3 separate regions of the Homo sapiens genome follow, and all the other regions are linked to region 3. Evidence: promoter capture Hi-C in human tissues and cell types (Jung and others, 2019). All regions are on one chromosome and are shown on one strand. The core of a region is centred on a gene start or on the middle of the fragment in contact, and the rest is flanking DNA. Distances in the headings are between cores, read along the strand shown.

Region 1 (2,948 bases), core at 16-2,515, 700 kb after region 3:
CCTTCTCAGCCGGGCCCACTAGGAGTCCTTTCCGCCCAGCGCGCAGCTCCGGGTTTCCAGCGTCCCAGGTCGTCGCACGCACCTGGAAGATTCCGAAATCCTCCTGCTGTGCATCCTGCCGTAGGCCGTGCTTCCAAGGGATGCGGAAGCGCGTGCGGCTCTTGTTCACCCAGGCCACGCCCTCCAGTTGCCCCAGGTCCAGCTGCGACACCAGCCAGGGCAGGATCCGTGGCTTTGGGGTTCCCATGGTCCGGCCTGCGCGTATAGGGCATTTCCTGGGCGCGACCGGCCTCCCCCGGACCCACCTGGCCTGGAGTTTCCGCACCCAGACCTCCTTCTCACGGGCCACGGCACAGGTCCTTCACCCATATTTTCGGGGGTACAAACAGGAAACCTCCTCTTCCCATCCTCCCATCCTCCCGAGAGGCTCTCTAATCAGCTAGGGTTCCTTCCCATATCCATGGCACATCCTTCCCCAGCGTCTTCAGTGCAGACCCTCCACTCCCTCAATTCCGCCAGTATAGACCTCCTCCCTCCCCCACATCATCGAAAGTAAGTATCCCCACTTTCAGGGTAGCATCCTCTTTCCCTAGTTATTTCAGTGCAGAATCGATTCACGTGTAAGCCTCTACCTCCTGCACTTACCCCAATGTAGACCCCCTTCCACAGTCCCCCTACAGAAGATCTCCCAAAACATTTCCAACACAGAACTTCCATTCAATTCCCCTCCGACTGCCCGCCTCCCTCCTCCAGGACAGAGCACGCCCCAGGTTTCGAGACTGAACTACCCCCATCTACGGAGTCCACCCCTCCCTCTCTAGAACCCCCTCAGTGTAGACGCCTCCTCTTTTCCTCTTTCCTCCCTACTTTTTCTAGTTTTTCTGCAGCCGACCTCCAGCGTCGGCCACTGTAGCTCCTTCCTTGCTCCACTTTCCCCAGAGTACACAGCCTGCCTTTCCACTCTCCGTGCAGACCCATCCTCTTTCCCGCTCCTCGCTCTCGGACGCCACCAACGCTCTCCCGGGCTCTTCCGCGTTACCTACGATGGAAGGTCGGGGCGTGCGGGCAGCTGGAACCCACCCCTGTCTTGGAGCTCCGGGTAGCTCTCAAACTCGAGGCTGCGCACCCCCTTTCCCGTCAGCTGAGCTCTAGAGCGCTGGGGCTTTCTTTTTGATCGACTTCTTGAAATAAAACCAACTTTATCATTCTTTGGGTAACAGACCCAAAAGCCGATGGGACGGCCCGCTGGGCTGTTCCCGCCCCTATGCCCTTTTTTGGGTTTCCGGCCAGAGGCATGCTGGGAGCGTCACATGCAAATTGAGCGTGCACCCAGCGTTCCGCCCTTTCTACGCTGGGCCGGTTATCGACCCGGCCCAGTGCGCAGGCGCGGGAAAGTTGAACTAATAAAGTTTGTACGAGTTCAGTGGAGGAGACCGCAAGTTGAGTGGAGGAGGCGGCGGTGGGGCCCCGGACCAGGTCAGCGGGGTGTTGACGAGGGGTGGGGTGAGGAGGGAAGAGGAGGGGGCCGGGATCCAGTGGTGGGCACCCCAGTCCCGCTTCTCTGATATCCAAGGGTCCAGGGTCCTCTAGATTCCAGCAGGGGTCGGAGATTTGGAACTACACCTCACAGCAGGCTGCGCGGCGAAGAAGCGCGGACCTAGGGGAAGATTTGCCCTGAAACCTCTTGGGATTGGTAGTTCCCGATGCTTTAAGGGTTTCAGGAGTTTGGCATATGCCTCTTATAGAATCCAGGAGTTGGGGCGCTAAGCCTCTTCTTCCTGGGAGACCTAAGGGTCTGGGGCTCCAGTTCCTTTTTCTCTAAGACTCAGAAGTCCAGGACCCCAGCTCCCTCCTCCTTTAGACCCACGAATCTGGGCACCCAGCCCCACCACCTTTCCTTGGATCGAAGAGTCTTTTTCCTGATCGCTTTTTCGTCTGAGGACTCAAGAGTCTAGGCCCCCAGACCCACACTCTCCAAAGGACCCAGGAGTCCAGGCCCTCAGCACCTTCCTTGGGACTCACAAGTCCTGGTCCCCAAGCCTCCACTTCTTGCTAAACCCTTGGAGTCCAGTCCCTAACCCTCTCTCTCACAGGTGCCTCCATGGCAGGCTCTGAAGAGCTGGGGCTCCGGGAAGACACGCTGAGGGTCCTAGCTGCCTTCCTTAGGCGTGGTGAGGCTGCCGGGTCTCCTGTTCCAACTCCACCTAGGTAAGAGGAGTGGCCCTTCTCCCCCAGGGGCCAGCATTTGAGGCTCCCTCCTAACTCTTGCTCCTGGTCTCAGTCTGTCTCCTCTCTTTATATCTGGCTCTATTCTCTGTCTTTGGGGTTTTGGAGAGAGGTCCTCAGCGGGGGAGGGAGGGAGTTGGGGAAAGAGACTGCTTGCAGGGGATCTCTGGTGGGGTCAGTCTCTGAAGTCCTCCTCTCCAGAAGCCCTGCCCAAGAAGAGCCAACAGACTTCCTGAGCCGCCTTCGAAGATGTCTTCCCTGCTCCCTGGGGCGAGGAGCAGCCCCCTCTGAGTCCCCTCGGCCTTGCTCTCTGCCCATCCGCCCCTGCTATGGTTTAGAGCCTGGTAAGAGATTTCCATGATCATCTATGAAGCCGGCAGAACACGGGATAAGGTGCTAGTTTAAGATCACTCAGCTAGGGGGTGGCTGTGTGGAGTCTCTAGCACCAGCCTTCAGGACAGAACCGTCCTGTCCTCTCCCCTCCCCAGTTAGATTTCTGTCAATTCTGTGGGTTGGCTTTCAGAGAGCATTTGGTCAATCTGGTTGTTGTCTCTTTCCTTCCATAACTACTTCCCTGCCCCTAGGACTTTTGTAGCCAGGAATACCCCTGATAGAGGGGCAGAAGGGCTGGTTTTCAATCACATCTCCCTGGCTGTTTTAGTTGCGTGACTCTGGGGAAAATGCTTTCTCTTCCCTGCTCCCCTGTTTTTCCAATAGCAGAG
Region 2 (2,831 bases), core at 143-2,642, 620 kb after region 3:
ACAGTTACACTGGACTTGACTCTGCACCACGTAATGGATAGTAGTCTAGAATTACGGTTGTTCTTTTAAAGTGTGATGATGGTATTGTGGTCATATCAGCAATGTTTCTGGTTTTTACACACGCACCCTGTTAGATAAAATTTATAGAAGGTCATTGGTTTGGATTGAGCTCCTGCACTAGGTTCAACAGACCAAACCAAAATGGAGACACTCATGCTAAAGTTCCATGCTTCCAAGCCAAAACTAAGTTGATATCTGATCTTCTGAGATATCAGGAGAGAGATAATAGCCAAATCCCCAAACAACCCAGTTTTAGCCCACCTGATAAAGGAAGTCCCCTCTACTTTAACCTTTAACTTAGAAATTTAATCAAGTTAATCAATTTAATCAACTAGCTTTTTGTTTTCCGTTTCTGATTTTCTCAGCCCTTTGTCTCTGAAAACAACCTCTGCTCAGCTCATCGGAACACTCACGCTATTTTCCATAATTAGATGTTGTTTGATTGTAGATTCACGAATAAATGCCAATTAAGATCTTCTCACTAAATGTGTTGCAATTTTGTCTTTTGACAATCCTTAAGTGTCATGATGCCTACGATTTGTTTTAATCTCTTTAAGTTTAAAAAAATACAGCAAGTATGGCAAAAATAATCATTGGTGATTTGGGTGACAGGAATTCCTGTATTCTTCTCTCACTTTTATATAAGTTTGAACATTTTCGTAAGAAAACATTAACATCAAACTGCCTCAAGGACCGTTCAAGCCCCAAGTTCACAGAATTAGCAGCACAATCAGAATGGGAATCCATGACTGCCTGACCCCGAAGCTCCACACAAGAAAACGTGAATCCCTGCACCAACCCCGAAAGGGAAGGGGCTGTCAAAAAGGTGAAGAGAAGGTGGCGATGGATGACTGCACAATCTAGTATCGCCCGCCGTCCCACCACAGTCTGAGAAACTGAGGCCAGGAAAGGAGTTCTCCCTCCTCAACTCCCACTCCTTAGACCCCCAGCAATCCCAGTCCACTCCTTCCCTTGGGACCACCAGCAAATAGCCATCATCTACAGCAGAACTGTAACTCTCAGGAGAACTGGCCGATGCTAGCTACCACTTGACTGAGTTTATAGTGAGAGAGAGAGACAAAGAGAGAGAGAACTGCCCGATGGACGGTTGGCCACCTCCAGCAGAGTGTAGTTCAGCTTCAAACTTGGGGCGCCCGGACAGCTGTATTAATAATGATTGACAGGGAATCGGGAATCCAAAATCTTGCCCCAGTCTCCCTCAAGACCCCAGGCCTCTAGCCCGCAGGAAAGCGATCCCAGCAACACTCTTCCTGCACCGCCTCGAACTCACCTCACTAACGACTCCCAGTCCCTCGGTCGCTTCTTCAACTGTGCCCCGACACCGGAAAGGAGCACTATTTTCCCCCTCCGCTCCGCCCACTTCCGCCCAGCAGAAGGCACCGGAAGTAGAGCTGCCCCTAGTTGCGGAAGTGCCTCGCCTGGCTTGCTCAAGTCCTCTCTTCTCTTTCTCTCTCCGGAAACGTGAGTAGCTAATCGAAAGTTCCGGATATTGAAACTGGTGGGAATATGGGGAACGCTTACTATGTACGAGGCATTTCCCAGGGAGATCGTTTTTTCCTGCTTGGTTCCCAGGTTTTGAGTCTCTCCAAGCCCAAATTTAAGGACTAATCACTTCCCCTAGAGATCGGGAAGCCCACTTTCCCAAATATATCATCCACTTTTCTTGCTGCATCTTAAAACAATTGAGAAGAGACAACTACGCTCCCATTTTACAGACAGAGCCATTGGGAAATTGAAAATCAAAGCCGTTCAAGTCGCTCTCAGGAAACAGGGATTTACTGCGGCACTGCCCAGCTGTCCCAGGGACTAAGGCATATCGTTCCCGCTAGTTTCTAGATACCTAGAGACCTAGATATTAATTTTTCTAGCTCGGACAGACGAACTCCCAGGGGAGAGCCAGAGCGGGTAGGGGTCGGGAGGGAGGAGGAGGGTCGAATCTAATCCCCCAGGTATCCCATGGTATTCGACACCTTGGCTTCCTCATGGAGCTCTGGCCTTTAAGTCCTTTATCCCAAGGTCCCTTTAAATACTTTGTCCCTTACCTGAGTCCCGCCCAGGGCAGGTAATGGCAAGTTCCGCCCACCTGCCAGAAACGGGGATCAGGCCTGGTTACCGGGAGTGGGGCGCCCCTCCTCCTTATCCCCTCCCCTCTTCCCTGTCCCCTTTCACAGCTGGCTGTAGCTGGCCAAGGAGTTCTCGATTAAAGAGGAAGGGGCAGTGCTCACATTTCTGGGCAGGTAAGTGAATGTCCCTGGAGGAAGAGCCTGGCTTGGGGACCCAGGCATCCTGGCTCCCCGCCCCTCCGAGACCCAGAAGTTTGGGGCTCCTAGGCCCAGGAGTCCAGGGCCCCTGCCCACTTAGGTCCCTAGACCCAATAATATAACTAATCCCCTGCCTCTGCCTCTCTCGTAATCTTTGTTGTCTGTGGGTGGATGTGACAATGAGCACAGAAAGAGGCACAAGTGGAAATTACCAGGAAGGGAAGACTCCAGATCACCAGTGGACATGTTTATAAGCATCTGTGTCAGGTGCTGTAGACACAGTGGGGAAAGAAAGATAAGCTGCCTGCTCCTTGCTTTCTTCTCTGGCGGACACTGCCTTCACTGAAATCCTGGCTCTCACACTTGCACACTGTGTGACCTTCGGCAAGCTATATTACCTCTCTGTGCCTCAGTTTCCTGTTCTCTATACTGGGGATAATAATAGGACTCCTGGTCGGGCGCAGTGGCTCACACCTGTAATCCCAGCAC
Region 3 (3,206 bases), core at 431-2,930:
GTCAGGGGAGAGAGAGGGGCAGAGGATCAATGAGTGTACACTGAGCCACCACCCAGAGTGAGGGGACAATATGGCCACAGGCAGGATCCCAGAAAAAAAAAAATTATGGGAACCAAAAAGACACGGAGACAAAGCACACAGCCGGCTTCCAACAAGGGGGGACCTTGGGGTAGGGGGCCCGATTTGGGTCTGAGCCAGGTCTAGTTCTGAGGGTCCCACCAAAAAAGTCGGGGAGTGCCAAGGGGATGAGGTCAGCGAGTGGCCCCACCCCCATCCGTCCCCGCGGGGGCCCCTTCCCGCGCTGAGCTCAGCATGACTCAGCAGTCGCTGCCTGCAACAAGGACCCCAGATACCGGCCTGGCGGGGCATCTGCAGATCCCCTCGGTCAGGGGCTGCCCCGCCTGGGCTGTTCGGAGCAGCTCCTCTGTAGGGCAGGGCCTGACCTCACCCCACACCCCAGTGGCTTCAGCTCCCTGCCCAGCGCACGGGCTGCCTCCATCAGGGCACTTAAGTAGAGTCAAGGTTTGCGCCGACTCCGTCTCCCAGAAATCAACGTGGACCAGGCCCACTTAAAAAATATGCATTAGTCGAAGACAGACGTCTCGTCCATAGGTCCCCAGACTGTTTGTCCACAACGCAGGGCTTCTCTTTGTGGGCCTGAAGGAGCACACGTCAGGCAAGACACGAGGGCAACTTCAGAGACACTGTTCAGGGCCACGGAGAATTCTCGAAGTCTGTGAGTTGTCTCCAAAACAGCCTCCAGGAAATGCAATCCCAGAGACACCGCAAAGCTCAAAACAGACTTTTCATTCCTCCCCATTTCCACTCCCAGAAAAAGCCTGGGCCCCTGAAAGAGCTCCAAGGTATCCCCAAAGTCCCAGCCCATCTTTGGAGGGTTCCAGAGGGCTGTCCAGGGTTCCAGAAGTCACCCTACCTCATACAATGCTCCTCCTGGGCTTCCCGCACTGGGTGAAACCCACGGCTCCAGAATAACTGCCCTTTCCAACTTGCAGAGCACCTCAAGAACCTAAAGATTTCCCCGGGGAGGGCTCCAAAATATAGAGAGTTTGCATCGTGAACCCCCACCCCTGTAAATCCCAGGACTCCAGTCCCCGCAACACTCCATCTTCCAGAGATCTCCAGGGGTCCAGAAATAACACCTCACAGCCTTCCAAGCTTCCCAAGGATCCGGAGACTCCTTATCTCGCAGCGCAAACCTCAGGCAACTACAGGTCCTCCCTGCACCTTTGAGGTGCCCCTCCCCCCACTCAAGGTTCCAGAAAAATCCATGCCCTCGGAAACCCCAGAATCTTACTTTCCCGAGGCACCCCAGGACCCCAGGGTCATCAGTTCACAGGGCTGTTAGTGCTCCCATAAAACTCTAGCCTCCCAGAGGGACCCCAGCCCCCACCCTCCCGCCCACGAACCCCTGCATTTCCAGAATCAGCCCCAGGGCCCCAACCCCCCCAAGCCCCCATTTCACAACACGCTGGCGCTACAGGCGCGTGACTTCCCCTTGCTTTGGGGCGGGGGGCTGAGACTCCTATGTGCTCCGGATTGGTCAGGCACGGCCTTCGGCCCCGCCTCCTGCCACCGCAGATTGGCCGCTAGCCCTCCCCGAGCGCCCTGCCTCCGAGGGCCGGCGCACCATAAAAGAAGCCGCCCTAGCCACGTCCCCTCGCAGTTCGGCGGTCCCGCGGGTCTGTCTCTTGCTTCAACAGTGTTTGGACGGAACAGATCCGGGGACTCTCTTCCAGCCTCCGACCGCCCTCCGATTTCCTCTCCGCTTGCAACCTCCGGGACCATCTTCTCGGCCATCTCCTGCTTCTGGGACCTGCCAGCACCGTTTTTGTGGTTAGCTCCTTCTTGCCAACCAACCATGAGCTCCCAGATTCGTCAGAATTATTCCACCGACGTGGAGGCAGCCGTCAACAGCCTGGTCAATTTGTACCTGCAGGCCTCCTACACCTACCTCTCTCTGGTGAGTCCCCAGGACGCCCCTGGCCCTAATTTCCTCCAGCTGCGCACCTCCGGCCCTCACTGCACGCGCCAGCCTTCTTTGTGCGGTCGGGTAAACAGAGGGCGGAGTCCCCTTGGCCTCGCCTCCCGCTAACCATTGTTGCCTCCATCTCTTCCCGTAGGGCTTCTATTTCGACCGCGATGATGTGGCTCTGGAAGGCGTGAGCCACTTCTTCCGCGAATTGGCCGAGGAGAAGCGCGAGGGCTACGAGCGTCTCCTGAAGATGCAAAACCAGCGTGGCGGCCGCGCTCTCTTCCAGGACATCAAGGTAACTAGTGTGTGGGTAATGGACTACATCTCCCAGCAGGCCGTGCGCGCGAGGAGCCTTGATTTGAGGGCGTAGGTGTCGCGTGGGCTTCTGGGAGATTGAGTTCGGTCTTGTGAGCCCTCTTAACCGCTGGAAATAGAGGCGCACCTCGTGCAGTGCCCACAACACGCGGCAGTCCACACCGCTGCGTGGTCTTAGGGACGTATAGCTGTAAGAGCTAGGACAGGGTGCGGAGAGTGATAAATACAAGCTGTCACATGTCTTTGTGGCCTGGGCCTCTGACCCCCAACGACTCTTGGGAAATGTAGGTTTAGTTCTATGTGCCGAGTGTGTGTATTCTGAGCCATTTCTCCCTTCTATATAGAAGCCAGCTGAAGATGAGTGGGGTAAAACCCCAGACGCCATGAAAGCTGCCATGGCCCTGGAGAAAAAGCTGAACCAGGCCCTTTTGGATCTTCATGCCCTGGGTTCTGCCCGCACGGACCCCCATGTACGTACCCGCTGCATCCATGGCTACCCAACCATACCCCTCAAGCCTCTGCTCCCTTTGGGCAAATTTCCTTCAGAGCCTCATTTCACACCTGTCACATTTTAATCTGCAACTGGCTGCTCTCTCCCCCTCTTTTCCAGGGATTGGGTTTCTAATTTCTCCCTCTTCTCTCTCAGCTCTGTGACTTCCTGGAGACTCACTTCCTAGATGAGGAAGTGAAGCTTATCAAGAAGATGGGTGACCACCTGACCAACCTCCACAGGCTGGGTGGCCCGGAGGCTGGGCTGGGCGAGTATCTCTTCGAAAGGCTCACTCTCAAGCACGACTAAGAGCCTTCTGAGCCCAGCGACTTCTGAAGGGCCCCTTGCAAAGTAATAGGGCTTCTGCCTAAGCCTCTCCCTCCAGCCAATAGGCAGCTTTCTTAACTA

What was found. The method cuts DNA at HindIII sites, captures the fragments that hold promoters and counts their contacts. A contact is called where the count stands out against the background at its distance.
Region 1: the fragment with the promoter of IRF3 here is called in contact with the fragment with the promoter of FTL in region 3 in 4 of the 25 tissues and cell types used here (dorsolateral prefrontal cortex, hippocampus, pancreas and 1 more).
Region 2: the fragment with the promoter of NOSIP here is called in contact with the fragment with the promoter of FTL in region 3 in 1 of the 25 tissues and cell types used here (thymus).

What each region holds. Positions count from the first base shown.
Region 1 is chr19:49,664,592-49,667,539 of GRCh38, forward strand. IRF3 (interferon regulatory factor 3) reads right to left here and starts at 1,266. Exons shown (of 8, transcript NM_001571.6): 1 at 1,040-1,266; 2 at 83-255. The coding sequence starts at 247. BCL2L12 (BCL2 like 12) reads left to right here and starts at 1,342. Exons shown (of 7, transcript NM_138639.2): 1 at 1,342-1,476; 2 at 2,094-2,208; 3 at 2,428-2,570. The coding sequence starts at 2,102. RefSeq lists silencers at 1,245-1,394, 1,435-1,514. The HindIII fragment of the contact is 43,433 bases long and covers 1-2,948 here.
Region 2 is chr19:49,579,164-49,581,994 of GRCh38, forward strand. NOSIP (nitric oxide synthase interacting protein) reads right to left here and starts at 1,393. Exons shown (of 9, transcript NM_001270960.2): 1 at 1,352-1,393. PRRG2 (proline rich and Gla domain 2) reads left to right here and starts at 2,153. Exons shown (of 7, transcript NM_000951.3): 1 at 2,153-2,318. The HindIII fragment of the contact is 33,716 bases long and covers 1-2,831 here.
Region 3 is chr19:48,963,629-48,966,834 of GRCh38, forward strand. It overlaps FTL (ferritin light chain), which reads left to right and starts at 1,681. Exons shown (of 4, transcript NM_000146.4): 1 at 1,681-1,981; 2 at 2,142-2,288; 3 at 2,653-2,778; 4 at 2,955-3,206. The coding sequence starts at 1,880. The coding sequence ends at 3,107. RefSeq lists a cis regulatory region at 80-580, enhancers at 262-371, 1,921-1,970 and a silencer at 1,511-1,670. The HindIII fragment of the contact is 5,012 bases long and covers 1-3,206 here.